2 separate regions of the Homo sapiens genome follow, and region 1 is linked to region 2. Evidence: promoter capture Hi-C in human tissues and cell types (Jung and others, 2019). All regions are on one chromosome and are shown on one strand. Each heading gives the region's core, a stretch centred on a gene start or on the middle of the fragment in contact. The rest is flanking DNA. Distances are from core to core; before and after follow the strand shown.

Region 1 (5,173 bases), core at 715-3,214, 590 kb after region 2:
CTCAGCCCTGCCCCAAGCACCAAATCAGCTCCCACCAAGACCCTGGCCCCATCCCTTGCAGCCCAGGTGCAGTCAGGTAGGCTGACCCTGTCCTGGTGGGACTCACCTGCACCTGGGCTGGGACTTAAAGGGGCTGCAGGGCTGGGTAGGGGTGCTGCCAGCAAGACAGGATGGGGGCTCCGGGGTGGTGGCCCCTGCTGCTCTGGGGGTATCCATGGCTACAGGATGAGTCTGATGTGGGCTGAGCCTTTCTCTGCTACTCTTATTGTCCCACACTGGCAAGGTCCCCTTCCCAAGCCCCTATGGCCTCTGCCCAGTCACCTGTCACTCCCTCCCAGCTCCCTTAAAGGCTTTAAGCCCCGCCTTGTTCTCTAGCCCCCGACCCCACCCCCCATTCCCTGTCTGAGCTGGCACTCACATCCTTCTCCAGCCCAGCATTTTCCCAGCTCATCTTCTCCCCCGGCAGTCACAGCCCCATGCGGGGTACATTCACACCTGCATCCCTGTGACATCTCCTGGCATCTACCACCAATTCCTTGCTCACTCACTCTCCACTTTCCACTCTGCAGGCTCTCCCTCAAGCTGGGATCTGTGCAGGCCACATATAGGCTTTGTGCTCATGGGCCTAAGCGCCCAGCCTTGTCCTTCTCCCCATCACCTGCCCTCCTGTGCCTCTATGCCTTTCCTCACAACACACTGTTCCTCAGCTGCAAATCCTTTTCCTCTTGGCCAGCTATGAGCACCCTTCAGAACCAGCTCCAGTGCCCCTTCTGTTGTTGCCCCTTACTATGCCTTACTGTGGGCCACCTCTGCCCTTGACTGCCCCGTTGGTGGTAACTTGTGAGGAAATACCGGGGTGCAAGTTTGCAGATGCCTGGCACATAGTAGGTGCTCACAGAAGGGGCTTTGAGGCACTCCCAGGCCAGGCTGATAGGGATGAGGTCGGTGGACATCCTGTCTGTAGGGGGAAACACCACCATCTCCACAACCCCCCAACATTTTACCCTGCTCCATTTATTATTATTATTATCATTTTGAGACTGAGTCTCGCTCTGTCACCCAGGCTGGAGTGCAGTGGCACAAACTTGTCTTACTGCAACCTCTGCCTCCCGGGTTCAAGCAGTTCTCCTGCCTCAGTGTCCCAAGTAGCTGGGACTAGAGGTGCATGCCACCATGTCCAGCTAATTTTTGTATTTTTAGTAGAGACGGGGTTTCACCATGTTGGCCAGGCTGGTCTTAAATTCCTGACCTCAACTGATCTGCCCACCTTAGCCTCCCAAAATGCGGGGATTGCAAGCGTGAGTCACTGTGCCCAGCTCCCTGCTCCATTCTGGAGATGCAGGGAATTAATTGAAGGTGGGGGATGCTGGGGGAGGTTTTTGGGCACCCTCTGCTGGCCATGTTCTCGCTGAGTCTGGTTCTCCGCCTGAGCTAGCCTGGGCTGGATTGCCAGGAGACAGCCTCCTGCAGGACTGTAATCAGACAGATGTCCTCCTGGCAGTGAGGAAGGAGCCCCAGGTGGATGCTTGCCACCTGTGCCTTGGCACCTGCCTGCCCTCCCCAGTCCCTGCCATACCTGGCTATGAGGTCTTCACTGCCCCATTCAAAGCTTATGGCTTCATCCAACTGGTGAGGGGGCTGTTGGAGGCTCACGAGGACAAGGCTGCCAAGAGCCAGGGAGTACCCGGGAGATTCGGGGGAGAAGAGCTGGGGTGTCTGGGCTGGAAAGAAGGGTAGAATCAGATCATACTGATTTGCAAGTCACAGCCTCTCCGAGTGTGAGTTTTTCTCTCAAAGATGCAGAGCCCTGTATCTCTGCAGAATTCAGTAGCTAAGGATTTGATGCAGATTTGCCATTTAGCATCTGTGTGTTTGTACGTGCCCTTTACGTGCATTTGTTTCTTGCATCCTCAACAGCCCCGTGAGGAGATAAAACCATCATTCCCATATTCCACATGAAGACACTGAGGCTCACAGAAGGGAAGACCCCACTGTCTACCACCAGATGCAACTCAGCACATCATTCTTCAAAGCAGAATTGGCTTTTTTTTTCCTTGAGACAGGGTCTCGCTCTGTTGCCCAGGCTGGAGTGCAGCGGTGCAATTATGGCTTACTGTAGTCTTTACCTCTCAGGCTCAAGTGATTCTCACATCTCAGCCTCCCAAGTAGCTGGGACCACAGGCGTGTGCCTGGATAATTTTTTGATTTTTTTTTTTTTTTTTTTTTTTTTGCAGAGACTAGATCTCGCTATGTTGCCTAGGCTGGTCTCCAGCTCCTGGGCTCAAGCGATCCTCCCACCTCGGCCTTCCAAAGTGCTGGGATTACAGGTGTGAGCCACCGAGCCCTGCCAGAATAGGCATTTAAGCAAGACAGGGACCTCGAATGAGGCCTAGCAGGAAATTGAGGCCCAGACAGGGCAAGTGACTTCAAGACCACCCAGTGAGGTGGGGGCCCAAGCTGGGAGTAGACCTTTCCTGCCTTTTCCCACCATCCTAAGGAGCAAGTATCCTCGCAGATCTCAGGAAAGATAGTGGAATTATTTGCTGACCTGGTCTATGCACCACCACCCAGTTCAGAGCAGCCCTGCAGTGCTGCCTCCCGCCATTGGGTCAGCAGTGTGGTCAAGGCGTGAGCAATGCCTAGCACCCCTAAGCCTGTCTAGGGCCCTGCCACCTGGAGGTCTGCAGGAAGAGGGAATGGTAGGTTGGATGGGGGCTGCCCCTCCAGAAAGGGGCCACCAGGCGCTGACCTCCTGGCCCCCACTTGGTGTGAGCCTGGGGCAGGGCTGGAAATGCTCACCTGGGGGTTGGAATTTGGAATTCCTGGCCTTTTCCCTCCTGTTCTTCCTCCTCATGGGCTGCCCTGGGGGACTTGGCATGGGCCTTTAGTGTTTGTTTTCTGGGCCCCCTCACATGCCAGAGTTGCAATGTTCCCCGCCCCCCCCTTATTTCCCTGCCAGCCCAGGAGCTCCCATCTCACCTCCCACCTCCTTGGTCACTGACTCTCTGGCTGCGTTTGGAAATCTGGACTTCAGCATGAGACTTTGGCCTGGTTCTTTGCCTCCCACAGGTGGGGGACATTGGCTGGGCTGAAGTAATGTCCCAAGAGGAAGGTCTTCTAGCTCAGGGACTCCTGTGCCTCCAGTTCTGGGCCAGGTTACCCCTGGAGAAATAAGGAAGTGAGGGAGGACCAGTAACAGAGTGTGAGGGCACTGGGCTTCTGGCCACCTGGCCCTAGCTTTTCCTGCTTCTCCTCTTGCTGTGTGGCCTCAGGCAAACCCTTCAGCATCTCTGGGTCTCGTGTCTTCCCCATCTTGGTTTCATTCCACCTCAGGGTGGGGCCATACTGGAGGATCCAGACCCCACCAACACCAGCACCATTTTCCTGGGCTCTGAGCTCCACATGGAGTTTGCTGTGGTTGGCAGCTCCCATTAGCCTTTACAGGTATATGTGGACGAGTGTGTGATCAGCCCCAGCCAGGATATGGAAGTGGCCCCTGCACACTACAGCCTTGTCAGGAATCATGGGTACTGAACCTGGAGGAGGAGGATAGGGTAGGATGGGTACAATTCAGTGGGTGATATCTCTGGGGAGGCTGGGACAGGGGCTGAGAGCCTTCCAGGGCTGGAAGGCACGGATGCCCAGATAGTGCTCCCTGGGCGTTCTTGAGTAGTCCTTTCTAGGCCAGGGGAGCAAGAATGCTTTACTGGCCCTTTCACCTCTGGAGCCTCTGTTTGCCCTTCTGTGAAATGGGGATAGTGCCAGAATCTTCAAAGCCTGCTGTGTAGACTGAATGGGGTGACGCTTAGCTCAGTGCTTGGCATGCAGAATTCTCAACAAATGATGGTGTATGGTGGTGTTGGGGCTAGGACCAGATCCCAGTTCAGGGGTCTGACCCTGATGACCTTCCAACCTGTGCCTTCCAGGTGCCTGGTGAACGGCAAGAACTTCCACTCCCACTTCGTGCCCCAAGAGGTCCCCAAGAGACTGGAGCTCTCCTTCCAGGCCTTCAGCTTTACTGGTACTCCTGCTGATGTGAGTGGAAACAGATAACCCCCTCCCCACTCTGCCACCCCGTAGGAACAGAGACCCAAGCTGAGGAATCTTTGGAAGTTACGGGGTGCACCACAAGCTGTTGCTCTGGAATCTAAAGGTCCCATCTGATGCTACCAAGAAGGCCTGTTCCTTCCACAGGGGCACTCATGGTGAGTCATGTTCACCAAAGGTGTACTGCATGCCTTACCCTGTAACTGGCATTTGAGGTACATGACCTCACTTAATTGTGTGGGAGGTGAGGAAACTGAGGCTCAAAATAGCTCAGATTGAATTTCTGCAATAGTTCCCCATGCTTGGCTGGACCACAAGCCCAACTGCTTTGGCCTAGAGTGGGCAGTGTGAGGTATACTGGGAATGGAGGCTTTGGACTGTGACCTAGACCCAGGTTCAAATCCCAGCTCCAGCTCTTGCTGGCTGTGACATCATGGGCAAGTCACTGACCTTTTGTTAGCCTCTGTTTCTTTGCTTGTTAAATGCAGGTCTGGTCCATGCCACCCCTAGCTCCCATCTCTGGTGCACTGACCACCTCCATCCCTCACCTCTAGGTAAGAACTTCTGGATGCCTCCCTGGGAGTATGAGTGACAGTTGTGAGATTACCTGCCTGGCCCCCTGATTACCCTATCAAAGGTCCTTGGCAGGTAGGAGGCCCCTGTTTTGGGTGTGGAGGGTGGAGGTAGGCTCTGAGGCAAGGGAGGCAGCTGGCCCGGGGAATCAGTCACAGCCTTGCATGAACAGGCTTATAGAAGACATCATCTTGCTACTAAAGGCCTCTGAGGAAACTGACACTGGCCTGGACCACAAAGACCCACTCAAGGTGCCCATTGATCAGAACCAAGGAGGGTCCTGGCTTCTGGATCCTGTCTGGAGAGGCTTCTACTGTGTGGGACCTTGGGCAAATCCTTTCCCTTTCTGGGCCTTGGTTTCCCCAAGTGCAAAATGAGAGCATTAGATTGGCCTGCCACTTTTGAGCCTCTCATGTAATCTTTATTAAACAGATATCTGGAGACCCCTTCACCTCCACCCACATAACCCTTGATATATGCCCTTCTGAGAGTTTCATAGAGGAGAGAGAAGGCTTGTAGTCACTCACACCATAGTATAAACAACATGTTATCT
Region 2 (5,264 bases), core at 1-2,500:
AGCTATGTAGATAAGGCTCATGAAGCTGTGGCAGCATTTAAAAGAGAGACCTGGCTTGAGGAAGAAGTGATGTCAAGGAAGACCTGAGTTTTTGTCTAAAGCACGGGTACAAATTAAGTAGGCAGGGCTGGGCGCGATGGCTCACGCCTGTAATCCCAGCGCTTTGGGAGGCCAAGGCGGGCGGATCACGAGGCCAGGAGATCGAGACCATCCTGGCTAGCAAGGTGAAACCCCGTCTCTACCGAAAAAAAAAAAAAAAATTAGCAGGGCGTGGTGGTGCATGCCTGTAATCCTAGCTACTCAGGAGGCTGAGGCAGGAGAATCGCTTGAACCCGGGAGGCGGAGGTTGCAGTGGGACGAGATCACGCCACTGCACTCCAGCCTGGGCGACAGAGCAAGACCCCGTCTTGGGGGGAAAAAATAAATTAACTGGACAATCTGAACTTTGAGCTCCAAAAGGACAAACAATAATCATGACTATGTCTGTGCCCACCACTGTATTCCCCTGCCAGGCAGGACAGCAAAAGCCAAAAGCTAAGAAAGGGAGGGGGAGCTCCCTACAAGCACCCAATTGCAATATGGCCTGGGAGCATCCCCGGGGCTACTGCTCCCTCAGCCTCTTTGTCATCATTCCTCTAGTCTCTCAATTAAATACTACTCTCCTCAGAGACCTTCTGATGGCTCTGCCTATAGTATCCACTCTCCCAGTTACTGTCATAGCTTTAATGACCTTGTGCATTTGCTTGTCGTTGACCATCTCCTCCCACTAGACTGTAAGCTCCATGAGGGCAGAAGCCTTGTCTGTCTTGCTTTCTTTGTATCCCCAATGTCTAGATCTGTGTCTGGCACATAGGAAGCACTCCACAAATATTTGCTGAACGAATGAATGAACCCTGAGGAAACTGAAGCCCCGGGTGTGAGGACGTGGGGGGATCGTGGCTGGTCCAACGCCACTCTGGGGCCGAACTTCGAACCCGTGGCTCCTGACCCTGGCGGCCAAGTCTCGAGAGGCGGCTCACAACCCCTCAGGTAGCGTAAGCGTGGGCCCCGCAATGGAGGCCAGAGGATGGGAGAGCCAAGGCTGCCCAAGGCATAGCCGCGGCTCCTCCGGGGTCCCTTGCCCTGCATCTGGCAGGGACCAGCCACGCACTCACCTCGGCGGCTCCACCACCGGCTCTGTGCCGCCGCCGCCGCCGCCGCCGCCGACCACGGTGACAGCTCCCTGAGCGCCCGCACTTCCGGGGTCAAACTGCGATTCCGCAGGAGCAGACAGGAAGTCTCGGCCTGGCCCCGCCCCCAGAGCCGAGCAAACTACCGCCGGGAAGCCGGACCCGGGTTGCGCCTCTCTTCTTAAGACTCCGCCCCACACTCGGCGTCTGTAGCCACGCCCCCTTCCCCTCCTATCTCCCTTCCTGCTTAAGCAGAGAATAGGTCAGCTGAGGGCGGGCTGTGTGATTACACCTCTCGGGAAATCCAAGTATGGCACCTGAGAGGACGTCTCGGAATCCCAGGCTTCCACCTTCTGCCCGACCTCCTTAGTCACCGTTTTACATATTTAATCCAGAAGAGAAATTTTAACAAGTCAAAAGCACGAACATAATGTTAAGCAGATGTACAAGTACAGACTGCGATTTCATTTACGGGAAATTCTAGAACAGACAGAACTCATGAGTAGTGATGGTGTTAAAATTGGTGGTTTCCTCTGGGGCTGTGGGCTGGGAGGGGCCACAAGTGAGGCTGGGGTCACCCCCTGTCTTCATCTCGGTGGTAGCCATGTAGATGTGTTCACTTTGGAAAATTCATCAAATTGTACGCTTAAGATTTGTGCATTTTTCTGTATGTATGCAATACAGTTTTGTTCTGTTTTGTTTAAGGAAGTTACAAGTATAGCTATCCTAAGAGAAGGATGCAATTTTTTCTACAGAATGTCTCAGGTAATGTAGGTTTAGTGGTTCCTAAGCCTGACTATGGATCAGAATCATCACAGAAAACTTGTTAAGAACACACATTCCTGGCTTCATCTCAGTGCCTGGTACACAGTAAGAATTCAAAACCAACCACCATCATTATTGGGGTGTTATAGAAGCCCCCGAATGGAGAACACAACCCCACCCTGGGATTGTGAAATATTTCCCAGGACACTCCTGCCAACCCCTGCTATCTGCACTAGGGCTACAAGGAATGCTTAGTTCAGTGCCTGTCTTCAAGGGGCTTACAGGATAGGAAGTGCAAGAAAACCAATAGCAATGAGTCAGTGTGATGAATGCAGGGTGCTAAGGAAATAGGAGAGATGGGCTGTAAACCAGAAATGAGATGAGAGGGGCTGGATATTATATTAGTTTTGTATTGCTGCATAACATATTACCACAAACTTATAACAACACACTGCTTGCCACTTATAACAAACACATTTATTTATTTATTTATTTTGAGACAGAGTCTCACTCTGTCACCAGGCTGGAGTGCAGTGGTGTGATCTTGGCTCACTGTAACCTCTGCCTCCCGGAGGTTACAGTGGGTTCAAGCGATTCTCCTGCCTCAGCCTCCCAAGTAGGCAGGACTACAGGCATGAGCCACCAGGCCCAGCTAATTTTTGTATTTTTAGTAGAGACGGAGTTTCACCATGTTGGCCAGGATGGTCTCGATCTCTTGACGTCGTGATCCGCCTGCCTCAGCCTTCCAAAGTGCTGGGGTTACAGGCGTGAGCCACCACACCTGGCCAACAAACATATTTATTATCTCACATTTTCTGTGGGCCAGGAATCTGAGGATGGCATAGCTGGCTCCTCTGCATCAGGGTCACCCACAAGACTGCAATCAAGATATCGGCCAGGGCTGGAGTCTCATTTAAAGGCTCAACTCAAAAAGGATCTGCTTCCCATGTCTAGTGGCTAAATTCAGTTCCTTAATGGTTGTTGGACTAAGGGTCTCAGTTCCTAGCTGGATTTTGGCTAAAGGCTTGTCACGTAGGCTTCTCCAGTGTAGCAGCCTGCTTCATCAAAGCATGCAAGCCTAAAAGTTAATAGGGAAGCCAAGAGTGGTGGCACATGCTTATGGTTCCAGCAGGTTGGGAGGCTGAAGCAGGAGGATTGTTTGCGCCTAGGAGTTCAAATTGAGCCTGAGCAACATAGCAAGACCCAGTCTCTAAAAATTAAAAATAAATAAATAAATAAAAGAAGGCAATAGGGGCCGGGCACCGTGGCTCATGCCTATAATCCCAACACTTCGGGGGGCTAAGGTGGGAAGATTGCTTGAGCCCAGAAGTCTGAGGCCATCTTAGGCAACATAGCGAGACTTCGTCTCTACAAAAAAAAATTTAAAATTAGCCAGGCATGCTGGTGCATGCCTGTAGTCCCAGCTACTTAGGAGGTCGAGGCAGGAGAATTGCTTGAGCCCAGGAGTTCGAGGCTGCAGTTAGCTGTGATCACACCACTGCACTCCAGCCTGCACAACAGAGCAAGACCCTGTCTCAAACAAACAAAAGGAGGCAATAGGAGATTCTACTAAGAAGAGAGAAATTACAACCTCATGTAACCTAATCAAGAAAGTGACATCAGTTTTGCCATGTTCTATTTGTTAGTAGCAAGTCACAGGATTTGCCCACAGGGGATTACACAAGGGCATGAATACCAAAAGATGTGAATCAATGGAGGCCATTCTAGAGTCTGCCTGCCACAGATACTTGGAGGATGCATATCAACCCCAGGTCTGCAGCAGAGGAAGTAGAGGTGCAGAGAGATAAAGACAGTTGTGATAATAATGACCACATTTGTCAAACCCTTGCTTCATCCCAGGCACTGGAATAAGCATTTTACACATATTATCTCTTTGACTTTTTTTTTTTTTTAAATGAGATGGAGTCTCACTCTGTTACCCAGGCTGGAGTGCAGTGGCACGATCTTGGTTCACTGCAACCTCCGCCTCCCAGGTTCAAGCCATCCTCCTGCCTCAGCCTCCGTAGTAGCTGGGACTACAGGCATGCACTGGGCTAATTTTTGTATTTTTAGTAGAGATGGGGTTTTGCCATGTTGGGCAGGCTGGTCTCAAACTCCTGACCTCAGGTGATCTGCCCGTCTTGATCTCTCAAAGTGCTGGGATTACAGGTGTGAGCCACTGAGCCAGGTGCTCTTTGACTTTTTGTAACAATGATAAGAGGTAGACGCTATTATGACCCCATTTTAAAGAGAGGTTTAAAGACTAGACCAGAGTCACAGAGCTGGTAAGTGGGTGGAGTGGGGATTTGAATTCAGCCCTGTTTAGCCCCAAGCTCCAAGAGATCTCAAGGGCCACAAGCTGCGTCAGAACAGTGAATGTTTCCCTTTGTTGCTGTTATTATTATTATTATTATTATTGAGATAGGGTCTCCCTCTGTCACCCAGGCTGGAGTGCAGTGGTGTGATCATGGCTCATTTCAGCCTCTGCCTCCTGGGCTCAAACAATTCTCTTGCCTCAGTCTCCTGAGTAGGGGTGACTATAGGCATGCACCACCATGCCTAGCTAATTTTTAATTTTTTTGTAGAGATGGTGTCTCACTATGTTGCCCAGGCTGGTCTTGAACTCTTGGGCTCAAACGATCCTCCCACCTCAGCCTCCCAAAGTGCTGGGATTACAGGTATGAGCCACCATGCCAGCCTGTTGCTGTCATTTTTAGGAAAACTGATCTTCTACTGACATGGAAGGGACAGAAAAAGGTGCCAGAAACTGTGTGTTTTTGTTTTATTTTGTTTTTTCTTCTCTGTCATCCACACACACTGGGCACAAGGAAAATGCAATCTGTATCTTGGTGATTAGTTGGGAGAAAATCACATACAGCAGCCTTTGGTCCAGGAAAAACTTAAAATAGTAGATCTGGAGAAAATATATGCACTGGTTCCATCTTTCCCTATGGGTACAAAGATGTTCATATCACTAAGGTTTTGGAACTAAATAACATGACTGTAAGAAGACAAAACATCCAATAAGTCACCTAACTTCTCCAAACATATCTGTTTTCTCATCTGTTAAACAAGGTAGTTAATATCCACCTCATCATCATTAGAAGGCTTAAGGCTGGGTGTGGTGACTCATGCCTGTAATCCCAGCACTTTGAGAGGCTGAGGTGGGAGGATTGCTTGAGGCCAAGAGTTCGAGACCAACCCAGGCAACATAATGAGACTTAGTCTCTCAAAAAATAAAAATAAAAAAACTAGCTGGGTGTGGTGGCACACACCTGTAGTCCCAGCTACTCTGGAGGCTGAGGTGGGAGGATAGTTTGAGCCTGGGAG

The links. The method cuts DNA at HindIII sites, captures the fragments that hold promoters and counts their contacts. A contact is called where the count stands out against the background at its distance.
Region 1: a contact is called between a fragment that was not itself captured here and the fragment with the promoter of ASCC2 in region 2, in 1 of the 25 tissues and cell types used here (heart right ventricle).

Annotation. Positions count from the first base shown.
Region 1 is chr22:30,429,691-30,434,863 of GRCh38, forward strand. It overlaps LOC105372990 (a long non-coding RNA gene), which reads left to right and starts at 2,996. Exons shown (of 4, transcript NR_148046.1): 1 at 2,996-3,554; 2 at 3,927-4,205; 3 at 4,602-4,695. The HindIII fragment of the contact is 3,341 bases long and covers 295-3,635 here.
Region 2 is chr22:29,837,024-29,842,287 of GRCh38, forward strand. It overlaps ASCC2 (activating signal cointegrator 1 complex subunit 2), which reads right to left and starts at 1,251. Exons shown (of 20, transcript NM_032204.5): 1 at 1,155-1,251. RefSeq lists an enhancer at 1,524-1,583. The HindIII fragment of the contact is 14,310 bases long and covers 1-5,264 here.